Regions from separate parts of the Homo sapiens genome. Here all the other regions are linked to region 1. The links are contacts of gene promoters, found by promoter capture Hi-C in blood cells and fetal thymus (Javierre and others, 2016). All regions are on one chromosome and are shown on one strand. The core of a region is centred on a gene start or on the middle of the fragment in contact, and the rest is flanking DNA. Distances in the headings are between cores, read along the strand shown. Region 1 holds the start of CNOT4 (CCR4-NOT transcription complex subunit 4). Region 2 overlaps CNOT4 (CCR4-NOT transcription complex subunit 4). Region 3 overlaps CNOT4 (CCR4-NOT transcription complex subunit 4). Region 4 overlaps CNOT4 (CCR4-NOT transcription complex subunit 4).

What was found. Contacts are between HindIII fragments. The CHiCAGO score rates a contact against its expected background, and 5 or more counts as called.
Region 2: a contact is called between a fragment that was not itself captured here and the fragment with the promoter of CNOT4 in region 1, in 2 of 17 cell types (erythroblasts and M2 macrophages). The highest score is 6.3, in erythroblasts.
Region 3: a contact is called between a fragment that was not itself captured here and the fragment with the promoter of CNOT4 in region 1, in 1 of 17 cell types (M1 macrophages). The highest score is 5.1, in M1 macrophages.
Region 4: a contact is called between a fragment that was not itself captured here and the fragment with the promoter of CNOT4 in region 1, in 1 of 17 cell types (M1 macrophages). The highest score is 5.3, in M1 macrophages.

What each region holds. Positions count from the first base shown.
Region 1 is chr7:135,508,593-135,514,483 of GRCh38, reverse strand. CNOT4 (CCR4-NOT transcription complex subunit 4) reads left to right here and starts at 4,382. Exons shown (of 12, transcript NM_001190850.2): 1 at 4,382-4,595. RefSeq lists enhancers at 3,687-3,856, 4,007-4,126, 3,502-4,406, 4,437-4,636, 4,407-5,312 and a silencer at 4,197-4,436. The HindIII fragment of the contact is 7,472 bases long and covers 1-5,891 here.
Region 2 is chr7:135,403,066-135,409,317 of GRCh38, reverse strand. The region is part of intron 7 of CNOT4 (CCR4-NOT transcription complex subunit 4); the gene reads left to right. Among named protein-coding and RNA genes, the nearest start is that of CNOT4, 100 kb to the left of the region's middle. The HindIII fragment of the contact is 3,442 bases long and covers 20-3,461 here.
Region 3 is chr7:135,378,952-135,384,813 of GRCh38, reverse strand. All of the region lies in intron 10 of CNOT4 (CCR4-NOT transcription complex subunit 4), which reads left to right. Among named protein-coding and RNA genes, the nearest start is that of CNOT4, 130 kb to the left of the region's middle. RefSeq lists an enhancer at 3,918-4,498. The HindIII fragment of the contact is 2,125 bases long and covers 1,160-3,284 here.
Region 4 is chr7:135,434,018-135,440,198 of GRCh38, reverse strand. It overlaps CNOT4 (CCR4-NOT transcription complex subunit 4), which reads left to right. Exons shown (of 12, transcript NM_001190850.2): 2 at 1,776-2,041. The coding sequence starts at 1,868. Among named protein-coding and RNA genes, the nearest start is that of CNOT4, 73 kb to the left of the region's middle. The HindIII fragment of the contact is 730 bases long and covers 4,048-4,777 here.

The sequences.
Region 1 (5,891 bases), core at 3,133-5,632:
CCTCCACCTTCTGGGCTTAAGCGATTCTTGTGCCTCAGCCTTCCAAGCAGCGGGGACTACAGGCGTGCACCACCATGTCTGGCTAATTTTTTTTTTTTATTTGAGACAGAGTCTTGCTCTGTTGCCCAGGCTAGAGTGCAATGGCACAATCTCAGCTCACTGCAAGCTCCGCCTCCTGGGTTCATGCCATTCTCCTGCCTCAGCCTCCCTAGTAGCTGGGACTACAGGCGCCCACCACCATGTCTGGCTAATTTTTTATGTTTTTTTTTTTAGTAGAGATGGGGTTTCACCGTATTAGCCAGGATGGTCTCGATCTCCTGACCTCGTGATCCGCCCACCTTGGCCTCCCAAAATGCTGGGATTACAGGCGTGAGCCACTGTGCCCAGCAATTTTTGTATTTTTAGTAGATACCAGCTTTCACCATGTTGGCCAGGCTGGTCTTGAACTCCTGACCTCAAACAATCCACCCACCTTGGCCTCCCAAAGTGTTGGGATTACAGGCATGAGCCACTATGCCCGGCCTGGCCCTTGCCTTTCTCTAAATTCACCTCATGCCACCCTTCCCCTTACTCACCATAGTCCATATACACCTTCTGGTGAGGCTTTTTTTGTTTTGTTTTTGTTTTTGTTTTGAGATGAGGTCTCACTCTGTCACCCAGGCTGGAGTGCAGTGGCACAATCTTGGCTCACTGCAGCCCCAACCTCCCAGGCTCAAGCGATCCTCCCACCTCAGCCCCCCTGAGTAGTTGGGACAATAGATGTGTGCCACCACGCCCGGCTTATTTTTTGTATTTTTGGTGGGTTTTGGCAGGTTGCCTAGGCTGGTTTTGGCAGGTTTGGCAGGTTGCCTAGGCTGGTCTCGAACTCCTCGGCTCAAGTCAGCTTGCCTCTGCCTCCCAAAGTGCTGGGATTACAGGCATGAGTCACCATGCCTGGCCATGGTGAGGTTTGTTTGTTTTTTGAGACAGAGTTTCGGTCTTGTTGTCCAGGCTGGAGTGCAGTGGCGTGATCTTGGCTCACTGCAACCTCCACCTCCTGGGTTCAAGCAATTCTCCTGCCTCAGCTTCCTGAGTAGCTGGGATTACAGGCACCTGCCACCACACTTGGCTAATTTTTTTGGTATTTTTAGTAGAGACGGGGTTTCACCATGTTGGCCAGGTTGGTCTTGAACCCCTGACCTCAGGTGATCCACCCGCCTTGGCCTCCCAGAGTGCTGGGATTACAGGTGTGAGCTATCGTGCCCAGCCTGTGGTGAGTGTTTTTTTTAACCACCTCCTGTCTCTGCATATTCTCCACTCTCAACCTGGTAAAGACTACCCTCCTCTCCCCACCAATCTAAATTAGGCTCCCCTCTTAAACTTTCTCATAACATCCTTTATACATCTTCTTAGTACTCATGACCAATTGTAATCATATATATGAAATTCTGTTTATATGCTTGTAGTTATTTATTTATATGATTATTTAATCTCTGCTTTTTCTACTAGGCATTATGCTCTATGAGGACAGGGACCATGTTTTGCTGACCATTGTTTTGCTATACCACCAGCATTGAGCACAATGCCTAAAGGCAAAATAGATTTGTTAAGTGAATAGATAGGTTCCACACTTAGGAATCATTAGGTAAGCAAAGTAATACAACTGAATGTTTTTTGTTTTGTTTTGTTTTGTTTTGAGACAGAGTCTCACTCTGTTGCCCAGGCTGGAGGACAATGACATGATCATGGCTTACTGCGGCCTCAACTTCCAAGCCCAAGTGATCCTCCCACCTGAGCCTCCCAAGTAGCTGGAACCACAGGCAGGCACCACCATACCCAGCTGTTTTTCAAATTTTATCTTTGTAGAGACAGAGTCTCCCTAGGTTGCCCAGGCTAGCCTTGAACTTCTAGCCTCAAACAGTTCTCCCGCCCCAGCCTCCCAAAGTCCTAGGATTACAGGCATGAGTCACCACACCTGGCCAAATTTAATGTTAACTTTTAAAATTATATGAGAATGAAGTGTTACATACATAAGTCTATATGATAGTATATATATACACATATGCATACATAAACATATGAAAACTGGCAATGTAGTATAGTAAAAGGAGTACTGGCCTGAGATGGTAGTGACTCTTACAATTGGTGACCTAGGAACTGTCACCTCCTTACTGTCAGTCTCAATACAGGGGTGGCATTGCCCCCTAGTGTTGGATATTTTATTTATAAGTGCTAGCAAACCATGACTTGACTGTATTTCTAGAATGGTCATGCTGAGCATTTATATATTGAAATACAATTTTATTATAAAATATTTTCTTCATATCATTTATATTATAAATAGCACATCATTTTGATTTCAGATGAAATCATGTATATAGGTAGTTTATATACCTATGAATTTCATTTTAGGCTAACAAAGAGCATATTATAAAAACATTTATTAAAAAAAGGAATGTTGGGTAAGATAAGGTTGCCACTGGATTAGGTGATGCTTAAGATCCCTTCCAGTTTTTACTGTGATGATTCTAATCTTTCATAATGGGAAGGCTTCTTTTTATTTTGTTCTTTTCATTACTTTGTTTATATACTACTATAGAATCAGTAATATATACAAGAACAATAAACACATTTTTAAATAAAAATGTCAACCATATTGAATGTTTAGGCATTTAATTACCTAAAGGGAAATCCAAATAATTTCCCAAGTTTCCTTGCTAGGTAATCATTTCATGATTCTATAATTTCAAACTTTGGGTAAAATGTGACTTCACTACATATTTTAATTTTTACCCAAGTAACTGTTGTCTCTAGGTTTATAGTGAGGAAACTGAAACACAGAAAACCAATGTACCAAAAGAATGAGGCCGGGTGCCCTGGCTCACGTCTGTAATCCCAGTACTTTGGGAGGCCGAGGCAGGCAGATTACCTGAGGTCAGGAGTTCGAGACCAGGCTGACCAACATGGTGAAACCCTGTCTCTACTAAAAATATAAAAATTAGCCTGGCGTGGTGGCACGTGCCTGTAATCCCAGCTACTCGGGAGGCTGAGGCAGGAGAATCACTTGAATCCGGCAGGCGGAGGTCGCAGTGAGCCGAGATCGCGCCACTGCACTCCAGCCTGGGTGACAGAGCTAGACTCCGTCTCAAAAAAAAAAAAAAAGAAAAAACAATGAATTGAGGGCTTATTATGAAATTAAGTTCGTAAATTTAAAACTGCAACCTCTTTCCCTACTCCCCTTCCCTGCTTTAAGTTTTTAAAATCGGTTATGACATACTATGCATTTTAATCACGTATTTTTAAAATAATGCCTCTTCTCTCCTCTTCCTCATCCCAACACATCACTAGAATAGGGACAGGGAATTTTTTCTATTTTGCTCACCATTGTATTCTCAATATATAGAAGAGTACCCGGCAGCTAGGAGGAGCTCATTGAGTATTTGCTGTATGAGTGGGTGAAGAATACATGCAATAAGCAAAAGTTACTGCTTCGAGCGCCACTTCCACCAGAGTTCTGGGATGCAAACGGGGCGACCAGTACATTGACTGACTTTTGTGACTGATGATTCCTCAGTGCTCGTAGGGATTGTGGCTGCATTTATTGTTCTTGGGGATGTGCCGATGTGTGTAGTTTGTAAACTTGCACACAGCTGTGCTGGCTGGACACCGAACTAACACTAATTTGCACCGAGGTCCGCAAATTCTCAAATTCACACCAACAGAAGCACGTTATTGTAAGTGCACGGGTGTTCCGTTCTCTTGGGTAATCTGCACAGAACAATTTAGTGTATGTCTTCACTGGTGATTTTACAGTGAAGAAGGGATCAAGGGTGGTGGCCCCAAATGCGCAAGGACAGGGAAATGAATTAAACAGGCGCCTGTTTCCTCCTTGTTCGCAAACAGACGCCAAGTCTGTATCAAATTCTCACCCTGGATCAAATCCCGCGCTCTTCGTACCCACAACCTGCCTCCACCTCCACCCCGCCCCCTTTAGATATCCCTGGTGGGCGGGGCAGAGAATAAACATTCCGGGCTCCCCGAAAAACTGTTTAGCCTCGCCCCAGTCTTGGGGTAGCACATTTCCGCAAACACCGAGGACACGGAATCACTAGTGAAAACCGCCGACCAAATGACATTGAAGCAGCACACGCGTGCAGAGAAGGAAGCAAAACACGAAGAAAGGCATCAGTCCAGCAGCCACGTGAGGTGGGCGATCCCCTCCGCCCTCTGAGAGAGGACTTCAACTCCCGGCGTGCCCCTGGGAGGTTACCCTCCGAGGACTTCAACTCCCAGGGTGCTGCGGGAGCGGCCACCGCAACCTCCCACTCAGCCGCCCGCCGCTCCTCCCGCCCCTCCCCCGCCCCTCCTGGCCGGATCAGCGTGCGCCTGCGCACGGGAGGCCGGAGGAGTCTTACCCTAATGTAAGATGGTGGCCCGTCTGGCTGTGGAACCCACCGAAAGCTGAGAGTCTCTCTCTCAGCCGTAAAGGTCGGACTCGCTGAAGCAATCAGGCCCGGTTCTGAAGAGTTTTTTCCCCGACGCTCGTTCGGTGGTTTCTTGTGAGGACGCGGCAGCCCGTGGAGTCGGCTGAGGGAAAAGCGAGGCAAGGCAGGCGGGTGAGTCTATGCGGGGCTGGGCTTAGGGGAAACCCGGGGCTGACCGGCTACGAGAGAGCGGAGGCTTCGCTGGGACTGTACAGGCCGCACCCCCCTTTCTCCCCACCCCCCGCCTCATCTTCACCCTCCTCCTCCTTGGTCTTCTTCCTCCTCCTCCTCTTCCTCCCTCTCCCCTTTACGCCACAGCAGTTACCATAAGGAAAAGGGAGCGGGTCAGAAGGCAGCGCGGCGGCAAGCAGCGACTCTCCTTCGAGAATTTCTTTAATTGGGGAGCCGAGGCGGCTTTTGGTCTCCAGCTTTTCCCCCTGCATTTTCACCGGGGCAGGATTCTTAGGTCTCAGCCCTCCTTGTTTCCCCAATCCCCTGTTCCCTGTCTGACGTCCTTTCCCTCTGGCCCCCGTCTCCCAAGACCAAAGCCATCACTTCCACTCTGATCCGTGTTGGCTGCTGCTGCTCATTAATCCCACTGCTCATTGCCCACTCGTCCTGCTGCTTGTTTTTTTGCTCCACTGCTACCACTCTGGAGTTAGCCTTTGCCCCCCTCTGGTGCTTGCAATCAGCCCACAGTGTATCTGCCACACTAGAGCTGCTTCCGATTTGCAGTCTTTCCTTCCACCACATCTGTCATCTTAAAGCTGCCCCTTAAGTATCTAGATTATGCTCCTCCTGCTAACCCACCTGTTTCTCAGCCTTCTTGAGAATTGTCCGTTCCTTCCCTCTTTCCTGTACAGATCCTTTCAATATACACTTCCAGAAAAAGGGAAGCCCCGTGGTGGCCCTTGAAAAGTAAAAGGAAGTTGGGAAGTGAATGAAGTGAGGTAGGATACTATTAAACGTTATGAGTGAAGATCTTTTATTCAGGCTACTCCGGAGAGGACCGTTTTCGTTTTGCTTTCTGTGATCTATTTGTCGCTTATTCGCTCTGTTGTGTTAGGACTTGGCTTTTTTTCTTTTTTTTCGTTTTGGACCGGTTTTATCATGCTACTAAGCGTTCTTTGGATTGCCTCTCCCCAGGACACTTAGTGTGGGCCCTGATTTATACCAATAAATATTAACCCCAGCATTACAAAATAAGATAAATCTGGCGCACATACAGAATTCATCTGTGAACTCCGCTAGCAAATATAAGTGATATTTTGATTACATGTGGGTTATGTGTGGGTTCTGTATTGAGGCTTGATTTTTGACTGAGTTTTATTGATGTTCAGCTTAATTGATGACATTTTATTTATGATTTGAGTGGAAATTTCCTCTCCAGTTAATATCAGATTTTCTTCTTATTTTTGGATTTGGGAA
Region 2 (6,252 bases), core at 491-2,990, 100 kb after region 1:
CTTTCTGGTTTGACAAGCTTTGATCTTTTCCTTTAATCTTTTGTACCCACCCTTTTCTAGCCCTGTATGGTTATTTTATGGCAAACCATATGCTATTACTTATCTTATTCGTTGCCACCTCTGTAGTGCTTGGTATAAGAATGAAGTTATTGTAGTAAACAGTGGTTTATTTTAGATGCTTTTAACATTTATGCACATCATTGTTTGCATTAAAAATGTTGTCATTCTAATTTAAGTCAAATTCTGGGTTTATAGCCCTTGGTGATTTCAGAGCAAAAATTTAAAATTTAGATGATCTCTTTGAGATAACATTTGTTGTCTTCTGAATATAAAACTATATGTTTTTATTGAAGGAAATGTGAAAAATTTATGAAAGCATACAGAATAAAATAAACATTGCATATGATCTTAATACCCAGAGCTTTTCATTGAAAGTGATTTGTGTACAGCATGCCCTCCAATAACATCATTTCATTCAGTATTGTTTTGTTACAATGTTGATGAGAAAAAAATCGATTCCCAGTTGGGGCCACTGCCTCTGTGGACTTTGCCTGTTCTCCCCATGTCTGCGTGGATTTCCTCTGGGCACTCTGGTTTCCTCCCACATCCCAAAGCTGTGCACGTTAAGTGAATTGACATGTCCAAATTGTCCCATTGTGAGTGAGTGTGAGTGTTTATGTGTGTGAGGGGACCCTGCCAAGGTTGGTTCCTGCCTTGCCCTCTGATTTGCTAGGATGAGCTCTGGCCACCTGCAACCCTGAACCCCAGTAAGTAGGTTGGAAGATGAATGCATGAATAAATACAAATTATTGTAAAATGTAAATTTGTAAAGTGTTAGTGTATTTTCTTATACACTAATTCCTTGCATTGTGTATTTTCTTAGTCTTTTTTCTTCTTGCGAATGCCTATAAACCATTATACACAGAGTACCTTGGTTTGTTACATTTGAAAACCTAATACATATTATTATGAATAATTTCCCCATGTCACTAAAACATAATTTTTTATGGCTATGTAGTATTTCACTATATGTTCATATTTTAAATTTATTAAGCCAACCTTCTGCTATTGTATGTTATGTTGACTTTGTTGATATTATTGATAACACTGTGATATGAACATCTTTACATATAAATGTTATATGGTTGTAACATATAAATGGTTATAGCTTTGATTGTTCCTACAAGTAGAACTGCTGAGTCAGAATATGAGAGTACCTATTTCCTTGAATTGGGTATTTTTTTTTGCCTTCTGCATACTTGCCAATTTGATAAACAAAAAAAGCTGTCTCATTTTAACTTGTATTTGATTAACAGAGTGAACTTTTTATGCACTGTGAGTTTATGTTTCCCATGTTTTATTTGTGTGTTTAAAAGTTTTATATGAGTTACAGAGATCTGAACTTCCCCAATCAGTTGATCAATTATTTGTGTTTCAAAATACATTGAATTTGTAAATCAGTATTGGAAGAATTTATATTCTGTGACACTGAGGCCGGGCCTGGTGGCACATGCCTGTAATCCCAGAACTTCATGAGGCTGAGACAGGCGGATCACTTCAGGCCAGGAGTTCGAGAGCAGCCTGGGCAACAAAGCAAGACCCCTGCCTCTACAAAAAACAAAAACAAACATTGACTCCTCCCAACCATTAGCATAGCATATCTCTCTTGTGCCTTTCGGGAAAGATTTTCTTTTTCCTGTTTTATTGTATTGGATCTCCTACCACCTCTTTCTATTTGAAAAATGCTTAGGCTAAACAGTGCAAAAACAGTGTTAGACTGGTAGCACTAGCAGGTGTTTTTACCTCATACTTACTTTCATGGGGATGTCTCTAGTGTTTTATTTACTCTTTAAGGATGATTTTGATCATTTACTTGAGATAAGTATTTTTAATCACAATATGAAATACCTTGTTATTCCTCATTTATTGAGACTTTTTTCCTTTAGATTGGAAATGAATATTGGAATTTACCAAAAGTATCTTTGGCATTTATAACAAGTAGTTAGCTTTTACTGTGTTTAGTCTGTTCTTGCATTGCTATAAAGAAATACTTGAGACTGGATAATTTATAAAGAAGAGAGATTCATTTGGCTCACAGTTCTGCAGGCTGTACAAGCATGGTGCTGACATCACTTGGCTTCTGGGCAAAGCGGGAGGCAGGCACATCATATACAGCGATAGCAAGAGGGAGGGGGTTGGAGGGGGAAGGTACCACACACTTTTAAATGACCAGATCTCCTGTGAACTCAGAGCAAGAGCTTACTCATCACCAAGGGGATGGCCCAAGCCATTCATGAGACGTCCACCCCCATGATTCAAATGCCTCCCACCAGGCCCCACCTTCAACACTGGGGATTATAATTCAACAGGAGATTTGGTGGGGACATACATTCAAACTATATTATTTACTTATTTTTGTAATCAGTTATTAATAGATTTGCTAACATTTTATTGACTTTGCCTTTATTATAAAGTATAGTCAGGTAGTCCATAGAGCACATTCATAACTGTTTTGGTAGCAGGAGAATGTCTAGGAGCCACAAGTTGTAAAGGGGGAAACAGGAGGAAAAGAGGAAATATAAAACAAGTAAACTCATTTACTAATTTTGCCCAAAGCCAGTGCTACAGAACCTCAGCTGGGACCAGAATAAAAAAAAATTTTTGAGAGTCTTGCTGTCACCTGGGCTGGAGCACAGTGGTGTAATCGTAGCTCACTGCAGCCTTGACCTCCCAGGCTCAAACGATCATCCCACCTCAGCCTTCTGAATAGCTGAAACTACAGGTGCACATCAACACACCCAGTTAATTTTTCTTTTTTTTTGTAGAGATGGCGTTTCACCATGTTGCCCAGGCTGGTCTCAAACTCCTGGGCTCAAGCGATTCGCCTGCCTTGGCCTCCCAAAGAGCTGGGATTATAGGTATGAGCCACTGTGCCTGGCCAGAGCAAATTTTGACATAGGTGTACATGCTTTGCATAAGTACATGATATAGAAACTTTTTTTGGGGGGGAGGGTGGGGGGTGGGGATGTTTTCTGTTTTAATGCGGTTACCTAAATTTATTAAGTGACAATTAATGGCCCAAGTTACAGAGAGTAAGCCTTTGGCTGACTGTCAGTCATAGCGAAAGGTCTGCTTTGGTTTCCACTTCCACATTGCCATCACCCAGGGTAGGCATACAGAGGCAGTAGGTAGTAGGGATGAATTTGTAGATAAGATTTCTCACAGGAAAGACTTGCCAAATTAGAGTGATGAGCAGTGTAACTCTTTCCAAGGTCATACCCAAGAGATAGGTTTCTTCATCTTCAAGGTAAGTTAAGACTTAAACTTTCTAGGAAAAAAAGAAACTCAAAGAAGGGTTTCATTTTCACATTTCTTGGCATTCCTAGATAGTGGGTAGCAGTTTTACAGAAAGAATTGCAAGAAAGCAAAGCCTGGAACCTTATAGATTGAGGCTCTAAGCTTAAAATGTGATTTTCTCTTATTTTCAATTAAGCCAGAGTACAAATCTTAAGATTACCATAGCTATTAATCCTCACTGAACCCTGACATGGTCCCCGATGCACATATATGTTAGTAAGTGAATTTTTCTATAATATATTTTACTCTTATTTCACCTAGTGAGCAGAAAATTCTAAAAAAGGAATTTGTCATCTGCTCCCCTTCATTATTATGAATTCGAGAGTATATCAGTCTTAATGAGTTTTGAACTATATATGTGCTATGAATAAGTTGCTTTGAAATGATGAATACAAGTAATGAGAGTGGGAAGTGATGAAGCCTTGCAGTAATGATGCTTAAGGACTGGCTATTTTATTATTTTTAAGTTTGGGGCTTTGAAATATCTTCATTTAGATTGAGATGCTATTTAAGTACCAACTGTGAAAGGAATAGTAACTAGGTAGGCTGCTGTGCCCAAGACAGTGAGCAGGCCTAGTTACAAGAATTGTGGGGTATGCAGATCACTCGGTGTAAATGGTTATGACTTGATATTGTGGCTGAAACAAGCCATCATTGAGGAAATGGAGATGTTCGGCTTTAGATTTAGGTGGAGCGAGGGTGGAATAAAAGTTTTGAGTCTTCTGTGTTCATTTAATATCCTCAGTAGGCCTGTGTGGTATATATTGTTTTCTTACTACGGGTAAAAAAACTTAAGTCTCAGAGAGTTTAAACAGTTTACCAGTATCCCACACAAATAAGCAGTAGATAAGATTCTGACCAAAGTCTCTGTGACTTTAAAGCCCAAGCTCATCCCTCATTCTCCCACTCTTCAGTCTAGAAGAGGTAAAATTCTTAAGAGCAGCTCTTAGGAAAAACTTTTTAAAACATAAATCAAATTTGCTTAAATGAAACTGTGCCATAACTATATGTAGTTTGATCTTGAAAATATCTGGTGCTTGAGGCTTGTTATCTGAAGACAGATGTAGTGGATGGATTGTAAATTCCAAGGAATTGATGTTATTTTTAGCAAACTTTCCCTGAGCCACAGATTGGTGGCAGTAATGGATTAGCTAGAGAAATGGTGAAAGGGAAACTTTTATAGGAATTTATCGATTTTTATTACATTTGAGAAGGAGTATACATCTTTTAAAATAAAAATACAGCTATATCCTTACTGAAAATCAAGTATAATCTCTGATAGACTGAAGGTATAGTCAGAGTACCTTATTAGTTCAGCAGAATGGGAATGGTCACTGCATGAATTCCATTCTCATAATTATTTGGTAAAACTCTTGAGATTTAGAAAAGACATAGTTCATAGATTTGTAGAAAAAGGTCTCAAGCAGAGATTGTTAGATTATGAATAGGCCTCAGGATATTTGTGAACACTGAAATTTTATGTAACATTTTGCATCTGTGCACATTCTTTTGAGAGAGAGAACTGACCTAAAAATAGTTATCAATTAAATATTGGTGTAGAGGGCACTGGTCTGCTGATACTTCTAGATAGATTAGAGGTGAATTCAGGAGTGGAATAAAGCAGTGATTCTCAAACTATGGTCAGGTGCCATGAGAAATGGACTAGTAAGTTAAGTGAGTGAGTTAAAGTTTGCTAAGATTTTATATTTACATTAAAATCAGCAGATTACTAGGTTTTTCTGAGTTTATATCTCAGAATCTTCCTTATTTCTCTTGAAAAGTTTTCTTCCTATGTCGTATTTGGCTACATACAGAGTTAGTGCACATGTGCATATGCAGTGAAAAACTAGTAAGTGAACTGGGATATCTTGGCCCACCTAAGTAGAATATGGTCAAAAAAGAAGTTAGAACCACTTGTCTAAAGTATTTGTTCCAGAGGGTGGGGTGGGATGAGTGTGGGGTTAAGGGGCAGTTAAAGATAGGGTTGTGTGTGCCCTTGTTTACTAGAATGAAAGCAAATAAGAAGTGTGTTTAGGTTTAACTTAAATATAAATCTTTTAAAAACATTAAGTGTATTACTGAAATACAGAATTTATGAATAAGTGGAGACTTGCTGTTTTTGAAGGTTACCACATTTTGTGATATGTTTAGGCTAGTAGATGTCCATATTTTGACTTTATTATTAAAAACTAATTCTTTGTACTTATTAATAGTTATCAAAACATTTATTTTCATTCATGTTAAGTAGGTCATGGGGTTATGAGAAAATTCTAATTAAAATCATATTTACACAACTACAATCGTTCTAGGTTTAATAAGGCACATTTTTCTTACCTTTTTATTTTATTTTTTTATTTTTTAATTTATTCTAAAGAGAGAGGATCTTGCTGTGTTGCCCAGGCTGTCCTCTAATTCCCGAGCTCAAGTGATCTTCCTGCCTCAGCCTCCTGAGCAACTAGGACTATAGGCACGTAGTGCTACACCCAGCTTCTTGTTCTGTTAATAGCTAATTATGCCACTTAGATGTGGCCATGTTTTAGTAGCAAAGTAATACTTTACATGTTAATGTATATTTGAAGCCTGTGTCAAAGTATATTCTGTAAAGGCAAGTTTTACCTGTTGATAACTTAAATATATCCTTTGTGTTAGCAAGTGTTTAAAAATATCTCAGAATTACTTAGGGACTCTGGTAAATGGCAAAATTAAGATAGATTCTTTGAAATGAATATATGTGGGAGTATTTAATTTAGAAGCAAAATGAATATGTATTTGTATATATGGTAACATGACAGTGAAATTTGGAAATGTCTGTTATGTTGACTTTTATCCTTATGTAAATTTTATGTTTAAAATGTAAGTAAATTTTATATTTTGTTTAAAATGTAAGTAAAAATC
Region 3 (5,862 bases), core at 973-3,472, 130 kb after region 1:
ACAAGATGCTAACTAGATGGGTGGTAGATCTTAGAAGGCATTGCTTTAATATAAGGGAGAAGAAGAACCTAAATATTTAAAGGCAGACCTTACAGAGCCAATTGAGAGGAAGAGACTGGCAGTGCTGAAGAGAAGATAGGCTCATTCAGTAGGATAATAGATGTCGTTGGGTGGTGGGAAGAGATAAGCTCCTGAGACGAGCATGTGGTATAGCTTAAGAGAGGTGGGTGGCCAGGCGCGGTGGCTCACGCCTGTAATCCCAACACTTTGGGAGGCCAAGGCAGGCAGATCACAAGGTCAGGAGATCGAGACCATCCTGGCTAACACGGTGAAACCCCGTCTCTACTAAAAATACAAAAAAATTAGCTGGGCGTGGTGGCGGGCACCTGTAGCCCCAGCTACTCGGGAGGCTGAGGCAGGAGAATGGCGCGAACCCAGGAGGTGGAGCTTGCAGTGAGCCGAGATGGTGCCACTGTGCTCCAGCCTGGGCAACAGAGCGAGACTCCGTCTAAAAAAAAAAAAAAGAGAGAGAGAGAGGTGGGCTGTATCTTCCTCTGTGATTTGTAAGAGCAAGAAGAACCTGGGGAAAGAGAAAGATGAGAATTGATGAAATGGCTCATATCAGTAATTATTAAAATGCATTATTGTTTGAAAATGGGGGTGAAAGAGTGGAATTGGGAGCCTTTTAAAGGAGATTAAAAAAAAAAGTCTTTTGTGAGAATAAGCCCAGAAATGCATTGTAAATAGTTGCTTAGTTGCTGTGTAAAGATAAGAGTCAGCTTAAAGATCTCTAAAGTTGAAATATATGTGGTTTTGTATGTTCCTCTGGTTTAGCACAAAGCATAGGAGTGGAAAAAGCAAATATTGAGTGTTTGGTTAAAAGGGGAAAAAGACAAAGACATAGAGACATTCAAGAAGACCACATTGAAATGTATAATCTTGTGCCAAGAAGAGTCTATTAAGGCAGTTTCCTGTGAAGAAATGGTGTGAGTGATGTGGAAGGGAGTTGAATGATTTTAGATTTTGATGATGACAAAGAACATGTTAGTGTTGCTAAGGGAATGATAACTAGGAGACTGTGGTCACTGTGATAACCACTCAATGCTAAATGATGATTGAGAACCAGAGAAAGGAGAGGGTTGGAGTTTGGAAAGAAGCTTGTCTTTTGTAACCGTCTATATACTCTCTCCTCCAGTCTTTTCATGAGTGTAGGAAGTCAAACTATGTGAGAGAGAATTGTAGAAAGCATGGAAGCAATTCCATGCATCCGCAGATGGGCACCTGGGGAATCCTGGGTCAGGTTTCCGGTGAGTTGAAAATGATCAAAGGAAAACTTCCTTCCTCAAAGCATCGTAGGAGGACATGGAAGCAGAGTGCTGGGGAGGACCAGGAAAAGCCAGGGATGAGATGAGACAGCTATAAGTAAGCAGCCCCAGTGAGTGTGAAGGATTGGTAGAAATGTTACTGATGATGTGAAAGATTTAGACAGAGGGATTAGGTATGGTGTATGATGAGTTTGGTAGTTGAGGAGCCCTTATTACAGGTAATATAGCTTCTCCCAAGCTCACTTGCAAACTGGAAGGCTTTTTTAAAAATGGGCTTCCACCTATGAAGGGAAAGCATCTGCTCTTACATAGTTGGATTAGGTCATTCTGCTTTATTTATATATCAAATAAGAATTAAGGTACTGGTGAACAGTAGAGATAAAGTAAGAATTTTATTGTAACAGGTTATAAAAATATTTTGATAATTTCCCCCAAAGAGAATGTACTATGAATAAATAAAATCTACAAATTATTGGGCTAATTTACCCTTGTTTCTTATATTTTGTATACTTAGGAGGTGACCTCTAGGAAAAAATTGCTGAAGAGGTAGTAGAGCAGGGTGAAGATACCGTATACTGTCATCCCTAGGTATCTGTAGGGGATTGGTTCCACAGATTGCAAAATTCTTGGATTCTCAAGTCCTCGATATAAGACAGTGTAGTATTTGCATATGACCTGCACATATATGGGAGGCCGTATATTTTAAATAATCTCTAGATTACTTCTAATACCTATTACAATGTAAGTGCTATGTAAATAGTTGTTATATTGTTTAGAGACTGACGAAAACTGCATGCTTAATAAATTACACAATTTTTTAAAAAAATTTTCTATTCGATGTTGGTTGAATCCACAAATGTGAAAACCCCAGGTACCTGGAGTCAACTGTGTGGTTTTTTTTTTTTCTCCTAGTCAGTTAATAATAAATATTCCTAGTTTGGAAGCAACCTTAGTTTTCTAATAAAGTATTTTTAAACTCACTCCGTATATGTCAGCTGAAATATCAACTGTGACATTTAAAAAGGATAATGCTTCTAAGTACAAATCATTGCTCAAGAATACTATGTTTGTGAAACCTTGTTGATGGATTGAGAAGCCACTGCTCCTTGGACCTCCTTATCACCCTGTGATTTGCTTCTGTGAGTTGTAATCGAGCCACCTAACATTGCTGGTCATACTAGCCTTCCACTTCTTAGTCAGGGGCTATTTCCAAAGAATCACTCTTGATAATTTGAGATGCATTAAGAAGATTCTACTCTGTTTTTTGGTCTTTTAGAGAGTCTTCTCTGGGTTTGAGTTATAGAGAAATCGAGTTTAGGTACCTAGAACTGAGAGCAAGCCTAAGTAATCTAAGCTACTTGAGAAATGGACTGAAGTACCCAGATGTTCCATAAAACAGCTTGAAGTTGTTGACCTTGAGAACCATTTCCTTTTCTCCAGGTTCCTCTTGACCACACTTCCTAAGGCAACTATTGACTTCACTGTCTTAGCCCACTTTACCTTTATTCTAAGAGTTCCTGGAAGCTCCAAGCTGACCCTGGAACATACTGTGCTTATAACAATTTTGTTATTCCAGCTCCTGTTGGGTGCTCAGACCCACTATTGTGCTGTTACAAAGCAACATCCCAAAATGCTTTTTCCCCTCATATAATTTATAAAGCCTTTAATGCATCCATTACCTTTCTTTCTTTTTTATAGCGGGTGAAATTCACATAACGTTCAATTAATTATTTTAAAGTGTATGATGCAGTGACCCAGTACCATTCTTTAATTATCTCAATGGTAAAATAGCAGAATAAGTAACCTACTCTGCTGTAAGAATTTTAGTCTGTTTCTTGTTGGGGCTGTGTGGTAATAGCTGCTTCTAGACTCTGTGTTTTACCCAGTAGGCTGAAAGGCAAATGTTAAACCTTTAAATATTCCGTATTTCTGCATAGCAGTACTACTGCAACTTAAGCTTGTGAATCAAGCAACTTGTATACACCCTTTTAAAAAGGCAGTGGGGGGCAGTGCAAGGAGCTCTAGGCAAGAGACACTTAGGAGATTTGCTTTTCTGAGTGGTAAAAATGTTTGAAGCAACTCTAAATAGCTTTGAAATGTTAGTAATAGTCTTACTGTCTTCATGACATTTAATTAGCCTTCTGTAAGAGTTTGTTTAGCAAAGGTAAACCATAAGCCTAGCCCTCTATATGCATGTGTGGTTGAATGTGTGTGTGTTTTTATATAAAGCAATTTTCAGTTAAATCTTCCACTTAATGAATGTAGTAGAGGAAGATGTCTCATGTCATTTTGGTGACCTTGACCTATGTCTATTCATGTATTTATTCCTGCTGTGTTCCAATTCATATCTTCAGGATAAATGCTGTATCTTTATTGTCTTTCTCCAATTTTTTTTTGAAGGAACCAAAGACCCTATTTAAATGCAATAAGGTTGTAATACTGGTGCCCACTTCACCCTGGTCATGTTTTTTCTGAACAAATATTTCATAGCTTTTCCTCATCAAATTCCAGTCCCACTGCTAAGATACCCATCTATGACACAGTCTTTGGGAAAACCCAAGGAAAGGATAACTTAAAAATGATTTGTATTGGAATCATGACACTTCAGAGCTATGAATAAATAAATATAACATAGTCTTTAACAATCCTTTTAAAGACCGAATAATAACAATGATGATAATAAACAAGGCTCCGAAGGATTGTGATTTGTCTATAGTCACATTCTAACAACAATTTGAAGTTTCTTTAGCCCTCACCATGTAAATGTGCTTTCATGCTTGAAACTCAGTGGAGGAAAAAACTTTTAAGATTCAGAATCTGTCTCCTCTAAACATTATTGTGTCTTACAGTTTAATTACAGTAGGTCTCTCAAGTCAAGGGCTTACAACTGTGAATTCATTGCAAACAATGAATTTGAAGGCTTTCAAAATGACCACCAGCTGGCAGCTGTTGTCACAGATCCTGTAGGTTTTCAAAGCTGCCCTGTGTTAAATGTGGCCCAGTGATCTTGGAGTAACTTTAGCAGGGGAAAAAATTGTAACCTTGCAGGTACTCTTAAAATAAACTTATGCTAACTACAAAATTACCAGTGTCAGAACTAAAAGAGTAAAACAGAGGTGGAGTTTAATTTACCCAGGATTTTTCTGCAGTACCAAAGAGAATTTAGGGGACAACACACATAACCACTAGACTGGTGACATCTCTAATATTACAAAATGGAAAAAAACTTATAGTAATGGCACCAAGATGTATTACATACACACTAAAGATGTGATCTCCGATTCATCTTTGAAGAAGAGCTACTCTGTGTTACACCATATAGAATGATAGCATATCTGCTGGGTTTTTTTGTTTTTTTTTTTTTCCCCAATCAAGGAAGTTGTTGTTTTCAGCATAAGGAAACAGGGAGAGCTCCACAAGGATTTAAAGATGATAATGCTATCACTATCTCCAAGAAGAAATGCAAGAAATCTGCAATCAACTTTTGTAGCCTAGCACTGTTGCTTAATATAGTGAGATCTTGGCCCAAGGACTGCACTTAGCATTTACACTCTGTTATCAGACTTGCATACTGAAATAATGTATTGATGGAACAGAAAGTAGTGATCTAGAACTTTAGTGGGGTGTTCTAAAACATTGTCGTGTTATATGTTGGCATTTGCAAGAAGTCTGACAACTGTATATTTTTATTTTTTTCCTTTATTACATCTATATGTTTAGTATCCAGCTAAAGGTAAAAGATTGCCTGGGTTATGACTTCATCAGCCAAGTAGGAAGTTTTTTCATTGGCCTTAAACTGAATGTTTGGTTACAGCCATAGTTCCACTTAGGTTTTCTCTGTTAAAAATGTTAGTTTCTATTAAAATTCATGATTATGGATGGCTGATATATATATACACACACACATATATATATACACATATAGGCACACACATACCCTACTCCCCCCAATCCCCATTTAGAGTAAGATTTGCTACCAGATATGTTTCCTTTTCCTTCTAAACTGTTAACATTTACTAATTTTTTCCTTCTGAACTGTTAACATTTACTAATTAATCTACCCATAGTCTTCCCCTGGTTCCAGACAAGTGTAACATATCTTGATTTCTAGTCTGCCCAGTGTTGATAGATGTAAACTCCTAAGACCTCACCTGCATTTTAAATGGTAGATGGCTATTTAATTGAAACGAAGCATATTATTAAAATAAGGATTTTATATAATCTCCAAATACACAAGCCCTGCAACCTTTGTTTTATAACACGCTTTCAGGTTTTAACTATTGACTATTATAAGTCTCTTTCCGGTAGCTTGTGTTCACCCCTCTAACCAGTTTCTTTTTCTTTGGACAAAGGAGAAGTTTCTTTCTCCATGTAATTTACCACAATTAACAGGGAAGTCATGACTAAATCTTAATGTACACTACCTATATGATTTTCCTACTGGATTCCTGACAGGCTTGAATTTTCCCTTTTCTTCTTCTTCTTCCTTTTTTTTTTTTTTTTTGAGACAGGGTTTCACTGTGTTGCCCAGATTGGA
Region 4 (6,181 bases), core at 3,163-5,662, 74 kb after region 1:
TGTAGGATTTCTTTATATATTCTGGACATTAGCTTTTCATTATATGTAGCAAATGTATCTTTTACTCTGATGCTTACTTTTAATTTTATTTATGTTTTCTTCTTTCCATGTTGCTAAGTTGATTGTCTCCTTTTATGGCTTCTGAATTTTTGTTTTGCTTATGAAGACCTTCTATATCCCAAGATTTTTAAAAAAATCTGTTTTTTTTTTCTTTAACACTTCAATAATTTATTGATCACTAGATCATTTGGGATTTTTTAAAATTGCAGTATTAGATTATATACTATTTTTTATTCAAATGGATAGCCCAGTGTCCCATCACTGTTTATAAAATGGTCCAGCCTTCCCATCTTTAGTTATACATTTTAGCAAATATTAAAACCTCATAAATTCATGAGTCTGTTTCTAGATTTTTCTGATTTTGAGACAGGGTCTCTGTCACCCATGCTGGAGTGTGGTGGCACAGTTATAGCTCACTGCAGCCTTGAACTCCTGGGCTCAAGCGATGCTCCTGCTTCAAGCCTCCCAAGTAGCTGGGACTACAGTGTGCGCCACCATGCCCAGCTAATTTTAAAATTTGTTATAGACATGAGGGCTTTGCTATGTTGTGCTGGTCTTGAACTCCTGGCTGGAGCTGAACTCCTGCCCTCAAGCAGTCCTCCTGCCTTGGCCTCTCAAAGTGCTGGGATTACAGTCATGAGCTGCTGTACCCAGCTATATCTAGATTCTTTAGTTTCTTTGCTCTTTTGTCTAATTTTATACTAATAGGAAATTATTTAAATTACTGTAGCTTTATAGTATAATTTAGTATGTGACAGGGCAAATTCCCACTTTTTTCCCCAGAAGCTTCAAAATGATTCTCATGCATTTATTCTTGTATGTAACCTTTAGGATCAGTTTGTCCAATTATGTAAAAAATTACCACCGTGATTTTGGTGGGGATTACTATAGAATTATAGATTAGTTTGCAGGCTATCAGATTTTAACTTAAAGTAGTGATTTCAAGCTAACCTTTTAATCTAACAGTGGCTTTAGCCTAAGATATTACCTAAAAATTTAAAACTCCCTATAATCTAAAAAGTTATATTATTTAACTTTTCAAAAAGTGTTTGTGATATGAAGGTCTATTTCTTCCCTTCTTTCTTCCTGTTTATTATAGGCTTTTTGTAGTATTACCATAGGAATACTTTTGTTTAATACGTGTTTCTCAGAAGTTTTCATTAGCATGTTATTACATAATTAGTTGTATTGTTAAGGTCTATGGTTCTATGGCATCCGAGTTTTTCTGAGTTTTAGCCTATGTTTCTCTGTGTCAAGAGTTTGATGTTAACATGTAACTATAGATGATTGAAGTATCTTGTTTTCATTCGATTTGTTTTATAAATTGTGACAAACTTTAGAATAGTGTAATAGTCTTCTAGTTATGTGGCAATATTACTAGGTTTTAGGTCAAAGATGAGACAGTTAAGAGTGCTGTTTTACCTTATTTATTCCCCTAAAATGTGTTATGATGAGTGCTATAGGCTAGTACTAAATGTTTTATCGAGAAAAAAGGGAAGTTCTTTTTTATTTATGTTGAATCCAAAATATTAATGATGCCAGGCCTTTTGTTTTGGTATTCAAAATTTTCAGAAATCCATTCTGAAAGCCATTTCAGGTTGATAACAGTAGTTGCTCAGTCAGTATTTTTCAAATTTTTTGACAGTGTGACTCTTAATTGTTGACTGTGCCATTTTTCCAGTAGTAAACAATGTATTTTGTTTCTTCTCATGCAGGTCGTCAAAGTCCTACATTTTAGCTTTCAGTGCTGAACTTCCTTCTCCCTTAAATTATTATAAACTTTTGCTGCTGTTTAATAAACGTGAAGATGTCTCGCAGTCCTGATGCGAAGGAAGACCCTGTGGAGTGCCCTCTTTGCATGGAGCCCTTGGAGATAGATGATATCAACTTTTTCCCTTGCACCTGTGGCTACCAGATTTGCCGATTTTGTTGGCATCGAATTCGCACTGATGAAAATGGGCTTTGTCCTGCATGTAGAAAGGTAAATACTTCAAAATAACTTCACAGTGATTTGTTTTAATTGTATAGTTTTTTGCTGCCATGTATATGAGCAAGTGAATTTAAAAGACTGTGCAAACCTCACCTGATTATATTATTTTATTATGTGTATTATTTTAAGATATAAGGTGGAAAGAACACTGCACTGGGAGTCAGGGCCACGTCTTGGCTTTGTTTACTAGCTGTATGATCTTTGTAAAGTCATGTAACCTCTCTGATTGGCCTTTAGTTTGTTGTTGTTTTATCCGAGGAGAAAGACATGGTCAGGGATGCTTACTGCTTAAGGAAATTAAGAATAGAGAGGTAATGGATTTGGATAGGGTTGCATGAAATTAGAAAAACATTTTATATTACATGTGGGAGGAAATTCACCTTAATTTTCTAGTACAAAATAGGAGAGAAGATGTTTACTAAAAAGAGTTAAAATGACAGAGAAATCCTCGTTCAGAAGATAATAAATGCTCATTTCTTGAGCCCTTACAGCAATTTTAGGCTGGTATTGATATTCCCATTTTACACTCAAGGAAACAGGAGCTTAGATAACTTGTCCAGAGTCATCAACTTGTGAGTAGTAGGTAGGAGGTTTGGAATTCAAATGTCTTTTGAGTCTATAGTCTGTTCTGAACTATTGTATTATTGAAAAGCCCCTCCTGGCCGGGCGCGGTGGCTCACGCCTGTAATCCCAGCACTTTGGGAGGCTGAGGCAGGCGGATCACAAGGTCAGGAGATCGAGACCATCCTGGCTAACACAGTGAAACCCTGTCTCTACTAAAAATACAAAAAATTAGGCAGGCGTGGTGGCGAGCACCTATAGTCCCAGCTACTTGGGAGGCTGAGGCAGGAGAATGGCGTGAACCCGGAAGGCGGAGCTTGCAGTGAGCCGAGATCGTGCCACAGCACTCCAGCCTGGGCAACAGAGCGAGACTCCGTCTCAAAAAAAAGAAAAGAAAAGAAAAGAAAAGCCCCTCCTAACTCTAAAAATCTATTATTTTTAATATTCTATGGGTTTTATTGTTTTGATAAGCACCAGCGACACAATTACAGTATAGTGAATTAACTACTAGGATAGGTAGGACTGCCACATTTGTATTTTGAAGGACTTTATTTGTGACCTTAGGGATTAATGCAAATATCTGCCACTTTATTATGGAATTTGCCTTTTCTTTAATGTTTGTATAATTTAAACTTTATTTTCTAATTACCCATTTTAAAGACCTCTTGTGTTCATTACTATCAAATTTTGAGAAAGCTGAAATGTGTTTTAGATATCTAAAATTTAAAAAATAATCTGTCTCTTAGTTTTCTTACCTGAGAATTTATAATAAATCTCAGAAGGCAATGCATTGTTTATTTATCATTAGATTTTTAAAATTAATCCAGTGGATATGTATATATATTATATGAATAAAAAGTTAGGTCTATTTCAATGTTAATATAGTTTATACATTTATATAGTTACACATATATTGTATATGTAACATATATAATGTGTATATATAATTTGTATATATATAATATTTCATGTAGTTAATATAGTTTAAGAAATGTGAATGGAAAGGTAAATGAAAACCCTAACATTAGCTTTGGGAAAAATCTATATAAATTTTTGTTTATGGATTTGAACATTTAGTTATATTTTAGAAATTGGTTCCCCAGTCATTCCATAAGAAGACAATCATATTGAACTATTTCATCAGAAGTAATGACTTTCAGGATTGCCCAAGACTCTAAGGATTGTAAATTTGATTGGCTTCATGATGTTTATCTTTTTCTTTTCTTTTTTTTTTCCCTTTGGGATGTTATGAAGTCACCTTAAAAGGACCAGTTATTAAATTGTCATTACAGAAAAATAAGTTATTTGGGGAAATTACAAAGAAAGTCATTTCAATCTTAAGAGATTACCTAAAATTACTTCAAGTCCTTAGAAAGTAAAAAAAGAAAAAAAAATAGAAGATTTTAAAGGTAAAAACAGTATAACTTTAGCAAGCTTGATATGAATAAAAGGGTGTCCTGGGAATACCAGAAAGTGTGAGGAATCTCTGAAAGACAAGAAGGACATTGGAATCAATTTCAAGGAGGAAGCATTAGATCAGCTCAAGAGAAAACTGCTTAAAAAAAAAAAAGGAATGGGAGTGCTTCAGGATCCTAGGAAAAATATCAGTGTAGTTGGGTCAAGTATGGTGTCAGAGCAGCCTTATAGGCCTACCCCCTTTTTTGTGCCATGTAGCAGAGACAGATGCCCTCTAATTAAAACAGTGATTATAAGTTTGAATCAGAGCCTTAAGGTTAATGGAAACATTCTGGAGGAACTAGGAGCTTCTATACCTAGCAGATTACCTGTCCAGCAATATGTCTTTGCTACAGTCACAAAGGAGAATCTTGCAGTAAACAGAAATAGCATTTATAGGCAGATTACCAGGATTCTCACATGTAAAGGTGTGCAAAAACAAGAATTAACACAGATTTCAGGAAAACCAACATCATGAAAGAGAAGCACAAAATTCAGTAAATAGAAGATCCTAACACAGGAAACAAAACAGAAAGACATTTAAAACTATCATTGGTACCTTTCGGAAAGGAAAGAGGGAATGTCATATTCATGTAGAAAGATTATATTTCCTTATAAAAAGAACAAATTAGAGAGGTCTTGAAAAATCTTATAGATGGCCTGAAAAGCAAAATGGACACATTATAAGAGCAAATTGATAAATTGGAAGCTTGTGCTGAGTGGGTTTTTATTGAAGAATATAATGCAACAAGAGAAAAAATAGAAAGCATGAAGGAAAAGCAGCATAGATCCACAGGTTCTAATCTCTGCTGAGAGCAGTCTCAGAGGAGTGAACTAAAAATGAATAGGAAGAAATAATCAAAGAACTAATAGAAGAAAATTCCTCTTAGATTAGAAGGGCCCTGTGAGTGTGAAGCAAGGTGACTGAAAAAGATCAATGTTTGTTTATATAATTGTGAAATTTTAGAACATCTAGAATAGAGAAAACTCTAAAAGCTTGTGAGAGATAAATATTTAGAATACAACAGAACAAGACTAAAATTAATACCGGTATTTTCATTTTACAATTACAGAAAATAAACTGAGAAATTTATTTTCCCAAATTTTGAGGGAACGTAACTTTGAAAGGAGAGCTCTCAATTTTATTAATATGTAAAGGCATAATAAAACATTTTCACACATGCAAAGATTCATGAACTTTATTATTCATGAACCACCATACAAACAGAGAGTTGAGGATGACTGCAGGGTTTTGACTGAACACCTGAAAGTAAAGAATGGCCATTAACTGAAATGGGGAAGACTGCACCAGGAATAGACATTTGAGAAGATCAGAAACTCAGTTTTAGACATGTTAAGTATGAGATTCCTATTAGAAATCTAAGTGGAGATATTGAGTAGACAGGTGAATGAATGTTCATGTCTGGATTTCAGGTGAGGTTCTGGTATGGAGATACAGATTTTGGTGTCAGTTAGCATATAGTGTGTTATTTATAACATCACGAGACTGGATAAGATCATGAATTGAAAAGATGAAAGATTGTCTAAGGATAAGCACCAAAACTTTCCAACAGTTACAGAAAAAAGAAATCCAGATTACAGAGGTCTAAGACAACCTCCCTTTAGGGTCTCCAAGTTACATCTTTAGCTGAGGTGGTTATTGTTATTAGGCCAGGAATAATTTTTTGGTTTCTTGTTGACTTAATCACATCTCCTAGAACCTCTTCTTGGTCTCCTGGTCACCAGACTTTGTAGTGCAGGCAGCAGAGAGTCTTGGAGTCTGAATCCTGGCCTAGTCTTGCCAGAGAATCTGCTCAGCGCAGCGCAAGATAAATATTTGTGAAGTTGCCTGTGTCGGTCGGAGTCAAGCAAGTCTTTGGTCTCTGGAGGCCATCTACAGTGGTTGTGTTAACACAGAGGAAAACCACAATGTTGCTAGAGGCCTAGAGAGGGTCATGAAGCTGCCATTTACATGTAACCCAACCCTGCAGGCACAGGGTCTACAGAGGCCATGCTGTGAGGTGGCATATTGAGATGATCTGAAGAAACTTGGGAGATGCAAGTAGGGAGCTAGTTGAATCAAGCTCCTGTTCTCAGTCTACAATATGAAACGTG